Regions from separate parts of the Homo sapiens genome. Here all the other regions are linked to region 1. The links are contacts of gene promoters, found by promoter capture Hi-C in human tissues and cell types (Jung and others, 2019). All regions are on one chromosome and are shown on one strand. The core of a region is centred on a gene start or on the middle of the fragment in contact, and the rest is flanking DNA. Distances in the headings are between cores, read along the strand shown.

Evidence for each region. The method cuts DNA at HindIII sites, captures the fragments that hold promoters and counts their contacts. A contact is called where the count stands out against the background at its distance.
Region 2: a fragment that was not itself captured here is called in contact with the fragment with the promoter of SYCE3 in region 1 in 2 of the 25 tissues and cell types used here (liver and lymphoblastoid cells).
Region 3: a fragment that was not itself captured here is called in contact with the fragment with the promoter of SYCE3 in region 1 in 4 of the 25 tissues and cell types used here (IMR-90 fibroblasts, dorsolateral prefrontal cortex, heart right ventricle and 1 more).

Annotation. Positions count from the first base shown.
Region 1 is chr22:50,561,367-50,564,731 of GRCh38, reverse strand. SYCE3 (synaptonemal complex central element protein 3) reads left to right here and starts at 1,813. Exons shown (of 3, transcript NM_001123225.3): 1 at 1,813-1,874. It overlaps LOC107985568 (a long non-coding RNA gene), which reads right to left and starts at 1,771. Exons shown (of 2, transcript XR_001755606.3): 1 at 1,165-1,771. RefSeq lists silencers at 1,712-2,121, 3,192-3,365. The HindIII fragment of the contact is 12,147 bases long and covers 1-3,365 here.
Region 2 is chr22:50,663,399-50,666,552 of GRCh38, reverse strand. No RefSeq gene overlaps it. Among named protein-coding and RNA genes, the nearest start is that of SHANK3, 7.8 kb to the left of the region's middle. The HindIII fragment of the contact is 5,475 bases long and covers 1-3,154 here.
Region 3 is chr22:50,451,199-50,454,705 of GRCh38, reverse strand. SBF1 (SET binding factor 1) reads left to right here. Exons shown (of 41, transcript NM_002972.4): 36 at 1-194. Among named protein-coding and RNA genes, the nearest start is that of SBF1, 22 kb to the left of the region's middle. The HindIII fragment of the contact is 3,854 bases long and covers 120-3,507 here.

The DNA.
Region 1 (3,365 bases), core at 564-3,063:
CATCTTCCTGGGCTTCATGGCCTGGAGTTTGCAGGGTAGCCCACCTCCAGCTCCTGAGCAGGGTACTCAAGAGCCTGCACATTCCAGCTCAACTGATCTTTCCCGAGTCTTCTCTGTCCCTTACCAAGAACCCTGAGCCCAGAACACACTCGCCATTCCCCAAAGGAGGCAGGCTGAGCCACACCTTCGCCTTTGCCCTAGATGGGCCTTCTGCCTGGAATCCTGTGCCCTTTCTCCTACTCTCTCGGAAGCTGTCTTCCTTAGCCATCAGAATTATTCCTGATTCGGGCCAAGCACAGTGGCTCACACCTGTAATCCCAGCACTTTGGGAGTCCGAGGCGGGTGGATCACCTGAGGACAGGAGTTCGAGACCAGCCTGGCCAACATAGCGAAACCCGGTCTCTACTAAAAATACAAAAACTAGCTGGGCGTTGTGGCATGTGCTTGTAATCCCAGCTACTAGGGAGGCTGAGGCAGGAGAATCACTTGAACCTGGGAGGCGGAGGTTGCAGTGAGCCGAGATCGTGCCACTGCACTCCAGCCTGGGCAACAGAGCAAGACTCCGTCTCAAAAAAAAAAAAAAAGAATTATTCCCTATTCATGTTTCTCTGGGCTGCTGTAACAGAAATCGGCTCTGGGCTGTATAAGCAAATGGAAGTATGAAGAGCAGCTCACAGGTGGAAAGGGATGGCCAGAAAACCGGGTTCAACCGGGGCAGGAACCTGGCAGCTGGCGGAGGGAGTGTGGCCCAGGCAGCAGCCTCCTCAATAAACAAGCGAATGCTCACTCCTTGCCCAGAACTGTCTGGCTCAACCCCAGCCATTTTTCCTCCTCTGCAATCAGGCTGCTAAGAATCAGAATCCCTGAGAGAAAATTCAGGGGGTCTAAGGTTTGTCAGGATTCTCAAACACAAGGTGTTCAAAATCAAAGTTAACCTTCCAAGCTAGCTTCTCCCACTCTTCCACATCTCTGCCAGTGGTATCACCCCGGCCATTAGCCCCTTGCTTCTTTCTCCCTCCCTCCCACATTACCAAGCCCTGTCAAGTCGACCTTGGAATGGCTTTGACCCTGTCCACCACTCAGCCAAACAACAGCAACGGCCGGCCCCGTCGCCACCCGCCTCGGCAGCCAGAGACCTTTTAACTCTGCCACTCGCCTACTTACCACCCTTCTAGGGTGCCCACGTCCCTCTGAAAAAAAAGGCTGAGCTCAGACTGGCCTCTGGTCAGCCTCCTCCCAGCCAGAGCTTTCTGTCACTGCCCTTCTAGGTGTTGAGTGGCTCTGCTTCCAGTTCTTGCCTGGAGACCAGGAGCGCCCGGGAGGCCCCAGCACTTTCCAGCCCACATAGACCTGCGTGCACCTCTGCCTCGTCTCCCTGAGCCCGGGCTGCCTCCTCTGTAAGATACATGCCACATAATGTCCGCCACACATGATCGCTGTGACAGTGGAAATAGCTGGGCGTTCAGCGACTCATTCGACAAATGTTTACCAGCACCTTTGGTACCGGGCGCTGTCCTGGACACTGGGGACACAGCAGGCAAACGGGGCCCTGCGTATAAATCCTTAAGCTCAAGAAGGAGGTGGGGGCAAAACTGTCAGGCCGGGAAGCTCTTCATCTCCGCAGGATTCTCCCTCAACCTCAGGACGTCCCCAGCACCGCACCTGCCAGTCCCAGACTCGGACGCCGCAGACCTGTGGGAGCAGCGCGGAATGCCCCGCCCCTTTTCCCGAGGACACCCAATGAGGGCGAGAGGTCACTTCCGGGGAGGGTTCGCTAACGGAAAGGGCGGGGCATCCCTCTCGAGGAGCGGCCTTGTTCCTCAAGCGGCCGCTGGGGGCGCCAGAGCAGGACCGGAGCGCGGGCCAAGCTGGAGGTGAGCGAGGCCGCGCCCCCCTGGGCCCCGGCCCTCCCAACGCGCCCTGACGGCTGGGCTCCGCCTGACCCTGTCCTAGCGTTCGCGGTGGCACCAACCTCAAGCCAGACCCTTGACTTCGACCCAACTCCACTCACCCGACTCCACTCACTCCACACCCCATGCCCCTCCCCCGACGCCCCTCACCCCGCCTCACCCTTCACCCCTCATCGCTCACGTCACCGCTCACCCGCCTCCTCACCCAGCCTCGCCCCTCACCCCTCACCCCGCCTCACCCCTCACCCCGCCTCACCCCTCACCCCTCATCCCGCCTCACCCCTCACCCCTCATCCCGCCTCACCCCTCACCCCTCCTCACCCCGCCTCACCCGCCTCGCCCCTCACCCCTCACCCCTCCTCACCCCGCCTCACCCCTCACCCCTCACCCCGCCTCACCCCTCACCCCGCCTCACCCCTCACCCCGCCTCACCCTTCACCCCTCACCCCGCCTCACCCTTCACCCCTCACCCCGCCTCACCCCTCACCCCTCACCCCGCCTCACCCTTCACCCCTCACCCCGCCTCACCCTTCACCCCTCACCCCGCCTCACCCCTCCTTACCCCGCCTCACCCGCCTCGCCCCTCACCCCTCATCGCTCACGTCACCGTTCACCCGCCTCCTCACCCAGCCTCACCCCTCACCCCGCCTCACCCCTCACCCCGCCTCACCCCTCACCCCTCCTCACCCCGCCTCACCCCGCCTCACCCCTCCCCCGCTCCCCTCACTGCACACTCCATACCCCACTCTCCCCACCTTACATCCCTCACCTCAGTCCTTCACCCCCTTAACCTAATCTCCATGTCCTCACACCATACACTCCTGATCCTGAAGTCTGCACACCCTGGGCTTCTCATTCCGTGCAGCCTGCCCCTCTTACCCTCACACCTGCCACACCTGGGACCCCGGAGTCCACACACCACCTCACACCCCAAGTTCCCACACGCACCTCTGGCTTCCTCCACCTGCACTTCAGGACCCGCCCAGACTCTTCATAGCCCAACTCCAAGACTTCTCTCCCACATCACAGGTGCATTCCCTTCCTGTGCTGCTCTCATCCCGTACAAAAGAGCACATCTCTGCACCAAGCATCCCTCTTATCCCCTCACATTCCTTGTTCTCAGAGGGATCCCAGACTCTGTTAGAAACTCTTCGTACCAGGCAAGACACTCAGACCACAAACCAGACTCTAGGCTCTGACTCGCTCAACCCCCGTCCTTCACACCTAAAGTGATACCCAAGCCAGACCCTACACTCCCGCCCCACGCTCCCGCCCCACACTCCTCCCGCCCCACGCTCCTCCCGCCCCACACTTCCGCCACCCATCCTAAGCTCCGTTCCATTGTGCTTTGGTGCGGGCTCAGGCCTCTTTCTCCACCCGTTCCCAGTCATCCCAGGCAACCTCATTAGGCAAGAAATGCCGTGAATTCTAATCCTGTGGCTGCTTCCTCCACAT
Region 2 (3,154 bases), core at 589-3,088, 100 kb before region 1:
TGGGCGTGGTGGTGGATGCCTGTAGTCCCAGCTGCTTGGGAGGCTGAGGCAGGAGAATGGCGTGAACCTGGGAGGCAGGGGTTGCAGTGAGCCGAGATCGCGCCACTGCACTCCAGCCTGGGCAACAGAGCGAGACTCCGTCTCAAAAAAAAAAAAAAAAAAAATGAGGAGACTGGTTCCACTCTTGGGATCTATAGGAGAACTGTGAACTCAGGAGCTGCTGGTGACCGAGTGGTAGCCTTGAGAAGAAAGCCACACTACCACACTACGGCCGGCATCTGGGGCCTACCATCCTGAACGCACCTTACATCCAAAGCTAAGCAGGCTCGAGAAGAAAGTCACACTGGAAGAAATAGAGATTGGGAGACAGGGAAGGTTCTGAAGGGGTTTGAGTTTCTAATTTTAGTCCCTGAAATCTGATAGCACTTCTGCAGTTTGGTTTCAAGGAACAATACATTTCCCAGAGAAGTTCAAGAGCTGGACTTGGAGCAAATGCCCAGCTCAGCCACCAAATACCCAGGTGGCCTAGGAAAGCTTCCTAGCCTTCCTATGTCTCCGTGTGTGCTCAGCTAAGCTGGGGACTATAGTACAAACTGTTTCATTTCCTCATTCATTCTGGCCAGATGGCAGGCCTGGTTGAGATGCAAGGTGTCTGCCTTCAGAGGCTCACAGGTCAGTTCTCAGCCTCCTGGGCCATTGTGTGGACTAGATGAGGTACGTGTGTGTAAAATGCTTAGCACATGCCTAGTACCTGGTAAACACTCTAAATTTTATCATCATCAAAGCTAGTTCAGATTTTGGAGTGTATTCTGATGAGTGTGTTCTCCATATCTAGCAGCAAAACAGCAGCGTAAAGGGATGGCTGATCTTTGTTGTATATTCTTAGAAAGAGTGTTAAATTTAAAATACTGTTTTAACATTGAAATGTGGAATTAGCCGGCCAAGGTGGTTCACACCTGTAATCCCAGCACTTTGGGAAGCCAAGGTGAGCAGATCACTTGAGCTCAGAAGTTTAAGAACAACCTGAGCAACAAAGTGAGGCCCCGTCTCTACAAAATTACGGACATTTGCCAGACGTGGTGGCGCGTGCCTGTGGTCCCGGCTACTTGGGAGGCTGAGGCAGGAGGATCGCCTGAGCCTGGGTGGTCAAGGCTGCAGTGAGCCGAGATCACACCACTGCACTCCAGCCTGGGAGACAGAGCGAGACCCTGTCTCAAAGGAAAAAAAAACGTGAAATTAAAAGTGAGAAATATTTGTCTAGTTAATTTCACATTTAGGGTTCCGAGTATCTTTTCATTCAAGACGATGTGTTTTGCCTGTGTTTACCTCTCCACTCTCTCAAAGGCCACTGACAATTTAAGATCTATGTACCTATTTTTATTGTAGTGAAAAGCACATAACATGCAGTTCACCATCATAACCGTGTTTAAGGGTACAGCACAGGAGAGACAAAAAGAATGAATTCCCTGTTCTACTGATTTCCCCTTATCAGTGCTGCGCTTGACTAGTCTTATAAAATTAAAGATTTAAAAATTTTATATATATATATATATATTTTTTTTTTTTTTGATACAGAGTTTCATTCTGTCGCCCAGGCTGGAGTGCAATGGCACAATCTCGGCTCACTGCCACCTCTGCCTCCCAGGTTCAAGCAATTATCATACTTCAGCCTCCCTAGTAGCTGGGACTATAGGTATGCACCACCATGCCTGGCTAATTTTTGTAGTTTTAGTAGAGATGGGGTTTCACCATATTGGCCAGGCTGGTCTCGAACTCCTGGCCTCAAGTGATCCACCCACCTCGGCCTCCCAAATTGCTGGGATTACAGGCATGAGTCACCACACCTGGCCCTAGAACTATGTATATTTTTAAATAATAAATCCATCCTCATGTTAGAACCATCAAATGGGTTATGACTGGAATGACGCAGATGGGATCAGAGATGAAGAAGCCAACAAAAGCCAGAGAGTCGGCCATACCACAAGAAGGACGTCCGGGCTGCTGGGGAATGGCTTATTGGCCATTCACATAGCTTCTTTCGTGAAGTGTCTGTTCTAGTCTATTGCCATTTTTAAAAACTGAGTGGTTTGAGTTATTAAAATTTAGGAGCTCCTTATATAATCTGGATACAAGTTTTTTGTTGTTGTTGTTGTTTTGAGACGGAGTCTCCCCCTGTCGCCCGGGCTGGAGTGCAGTGGCGCGACCTCAGGTCACTGCAAGCTCCACCTCACGAGTTCCCGCCATTCTCCTGCCTCAGCCTCCCGAGTAGTTGGGACTACAGTGGCCCACCACCACACCCAGATAATTTTTTTGTATTTTTAGTAGAGATGGGGTTTCGCCGTGTTAGCCAGGATGGTCGTGATCTCCTGACCTCGTGATCCGCCCGCCTCGGCCTCCCAAAGTGCTGGGATTACAGGCGTGAGCCACCGCGCCTGGCCCTGGATACAAGTTTTTATAAGATATATGTATTGCAAAAGTTCTCTAATTTCTTGGCTTGCCGTTTCATTTTTGTAATAGCCTCTTTCAAAGAACAAAAGTCTTGCATTATTATAGAATTCAATTTATCTTTTTTGTTTAATCGTTCTCATATTCTTTGGGTTCACTCTAAAAAATCTTTGCCTACCACAAGATCACAAAAATATTTTCCTGTGTTTTATAGTTTTATTTTATTTCTTTTTTTTAAGAGATGGGGGGCCAGGCGTGGTGGCTCATACCTGTAATTCCTGGGAGGCCAAGGCGCATGGATCACCTGCGGTCAGGAGTTGGAGACCAGCCTGGCTAACATGGCAAAATCCCGTCTCCACTAAAAATACAAAAATTAGGTGGGCACGTTGGCGCACGCCTGCGTTACAGCAGGAGGATTACTTGAACCCAGGAGGCAGAGGTTGCAGTGAGCCGAGATCACGCCACTGCGCTCCAGCCTGGGCTACAGAGCGAGAATTCGTCTCAAAAAAAAAGAGATGGGGGTCTCACCATGTTGCCCAGGCTGTGTAGTTTTAGCATTTACATTTAGGCCTGTCATTAATTTCAAGTTAATTTTTGTTTTTGGTATCAAGAAAAGGTAGCTGTTCATATTTTTTTGGGGGGAGCATGTCCAGTTGTTTCAGAACCATTTTTAAGATTTTTAAATTTAGTTTTTATTGTGGTAAAATAT
Region 3 (3,507 bases), core at 797-3,296, 110 kb after region 1:
TGTGGGACTTCTACACTGAGGAGACGCTGGCCGAGGGCCCTCCCTATGACTGGGAACTGGCCCAGGGGCCCCCTGAACCCCCAGAGGAAGAACGGTCTGATGGAGGCGCTCCCCAGAGCAGGCGCCGCGTGGTGTGGCCCTGTTACGACAGCTGCCCGCGGGCCCAGCCTGACGCCATCTCACGCCTGCTGGAGGTGCGTGTGATCCCAGAGCAGGGTCTGGCCTGGCACCCCCCTCCTCTCGCTCAGACACCAGGGTCGTGCGTGTGTGTGTACACTCGTACATGCACGTAAGTCCGGTTACCCCTGGGGGTTGGTGTGGCCCTGCCGTCTCCCCACCATGTGAACTGCCTACTGGCCTGGGGTGGCTGTGGCTCCCCAGGGCCCCGCACCACTCAGTGGGTGCTTCCAGACAGTGACAGGAGGGCCGTCATCAGAGACCCTCAGGTCTCAGTACACAGCCTCCACTCTGAGCACGTGTGTTTTCCCTGACCTGGCTTTGAGCAGCTCAGGCACCTGTTGAGGAGTCAGCCCTTAGAGACGACAGTGTTTTACTCCCTCTGCCAGACCGCCTGCCCCACCTAACGTGAGCAGCTCTGGGTTCTTGCCCTGAGAGCTTGGGGTTGACATTGAGGCCTCTCTTACCCCTCACTGTGCCATCCCTGGTGGGCCTGGACTGAACAAGGCAGAGATGCCTGGGAGGGAGAAAGGAGACTGCGATTGGGTGGTGGCTGGGTTGGTGTGTAAGGCCTGAGGCAGTGTCCTGCGCGTGGTGCTACCTTTTGGGGCCATCCCGGAGTCTCTGTGGGACTGAGCAGGCAGAGGAGTGTGGACCTTGGACCTAGGCCACGGGGGGACCTGCACTCAGCTCCCCACTGTTGGCTGTGTGGCCTTAGAGGTTATCTTTTTTTTTTTATTTTGAGATGGAGTCTCGCTCTGTCGCCCAGGCTGGAGTGTAGTGGCGCGATCTCCGCTCACTGCAAGCTCCGTCTCCCGGGTTCACACCATTCTCCTGCCTCAGCCTCTCGAGTAGCTGGGACTACAGGTGCCCACCACCACGCCCAGCTAATTTTTTGTATTTTTAGTGGAGACGGGGTTTTACCGTGTTAGCCAGGATGGTCTCGATCTCCTGACCTCGTGATCCACCTGCCTCGGCCTCCCAAAGTGCTGGGATTACAGGCGTGAGCCACCGTGCCTGGCCTAGTTATCTAAGCATCTTAGAGCTTCTGGTTCCTTGTGCAGAAAGTGGAAATGCTGATTCCTGCCTTACAGGGAAGTTGTGAGGCTTAAATGAGTCATTTATTTCAGTGACTTAGCATGGGGCACAGGGTTTGGGGGAGTACGGGAGTCATGGTTTGTGATGGAGGTGACCCACAAAGCACAGACAGCAGTCCCTTTTTCTCTCTAGCGATGCTCATTGTCTTAAAGTTGACGCGGTCTCATTGGTGCTAACAGAGTCACTCAGCTTTGTCATGACCAGTGTCAGCTTGCTCTGTTGTTTTCTTGTATTTTTTACTGGTCTGTGTGTTTATGTTTAAGGTGAGTTTCTTGTACACAGAATGTAGATGTAGTTGGGTCTTCTTGTTATCCAGTCTAATGGGTTTTTTTAATTGGAATTTTTAGCCCATTTTAATTTACTGTTACTATTGATGTGGCTGGGTTTAAGTCTGTCATCTTGCTCTTTGTTTTCTCTTTGTCCCTTTGATTTTTTTTCCTTTCTTTCTTTTCTTTTTTTAAAAAACAAGTGTTTTTAGTATTCTGTCTACTGTGAGTTGAGCTGTACATCTCTGTGTTGTGTTTCAGGGGTTGCTGGGGGCTATAATCATCTGACTTGAAATTACATCACCCTGTTGACACCAGAAGAGCCTTACGGCAGTGTGTGTCCATTCATGCCTTTCCTGTCCTGTTACTGTCACACATTTTATTTTTACGTATGACATAAACACCCAGTATGGTTTTTTTTTTTTTTTTTTTTTTTTTTTTGAGAGATGGAGTCTCCCTCAGTCACCCAGGCTGGAGAGCGGTGGTGCGATCTCGGTTCACTGCAACCTCTGCCTCTGAGTTCAGGTGATTCTCCTGTCTCAGCCTCCCAAGTAGCTGGGATTAGAGGCACCCACCATCATGCCCGGCTAAATTTTTTTTGTATTTTTAGTAGAGACGGGGTTTCACTGTGTTGGCCAGGCTAGTCTCAAACTCCTGACCTCAGGTGATCCGCCCGCCTTGGCCTTGCAAAGTGCTGGGATTACAGGCGTGAGCCACCGTGCCCGGCCCTGTTTTTGTTTTAAATAGTCAACTTTGTTTTAAGGAAATTAAGAAAGAAGGAAAAAGTCTTCTATTTTTGCCATTTATAACATTCTTCATTCTTTCAGTATAATCTGGTCTGGTTATTATTTCTCTTCAGCCTGAAGAATTTTTAATATTTCTTGTAATGCAGAGCTGCCAGTCACAAATCCCCTCAGCTTTTGTTTATCTGAAAACATCTTGGTGCCTTTATTTTGCAAAGGGCATTTTCTCTGGATATGCATTTCTAGGTTGACAGCTGCTTCTTTTTTTTTTTTTTTTTTTTAATTCAGCAGTTAAACTGATGTCACTTTAAAAGATCTCATTACTAGGCTGGGCGCAGCGGCTCACGCCTGTCATCCCAGCACTTTGGGAGGCTGAGGCAGGTGGATAACCTGAGGTCAGGAGTTCGAGACCAGCCTGGCAAATATGGTGAAACCCCGTCTCTACTAAAATATAAAAATGAGCTGAGCATGGTGGCGGGTGCCTGTAATCCCAGCTACTCAGGAGGCTGAGGCAGGAGAATCGCTTCAACCCGGGAGGTGGAGGCTGCACTGAGCTGAGATCGCGCCACTGCACTGCAGCCTGGGCGACATGAGTGAGACTCTGCCTCAAAAAAAAAAAAAAAAAAGATATTACTTTGTTTTCTGGCCTGTATTGTTTCTGCTTAGAAGTTGGTGTTGATTCTTATCCTTATAAACTGTGTATAATGGCACCCTTTGATTCTCTGCCTTAAGATTTTGCATTTAATTTTGGCTTCAGCAATTTGACCATTGTGGTTTTTGCTTTCGTCCTGCTTGGGGCTCTTTAAACTTCTGGGTCTGTGGGATGATCATTTTTGTCAAATTTAATACATTTCAAGCCATTGCTTCTATAAATTACTTTTTCTGCATGATCTCTCCCTTTCCTTCTGGAACTTTATTGTCCCATACGTTGCTGAAGCTCTGTTTGTTTTTTCTCAGTCTTTATCTTTGCAATTCATTTTGGATGATTTCTGTTGGCTTGTCTTCAAGTTCACTACTCTTTTCTTTCTTGTTTTTAATATACTGAAGCCCATCAAATGAATTTTTTTTTAATTTCTTGAGACAGGGTCTTGCTCTGTTGCCCAGGCTGGAGTGCAGTGGCACAGTCATGGCTCACTGCAGCCCGAACCTCCCAGGCTCAAACAATCATCCTGCTTCATTCAGCCTCTTGAGTTGCCAAGACTACTGGCGTGGGCCACGTGCCG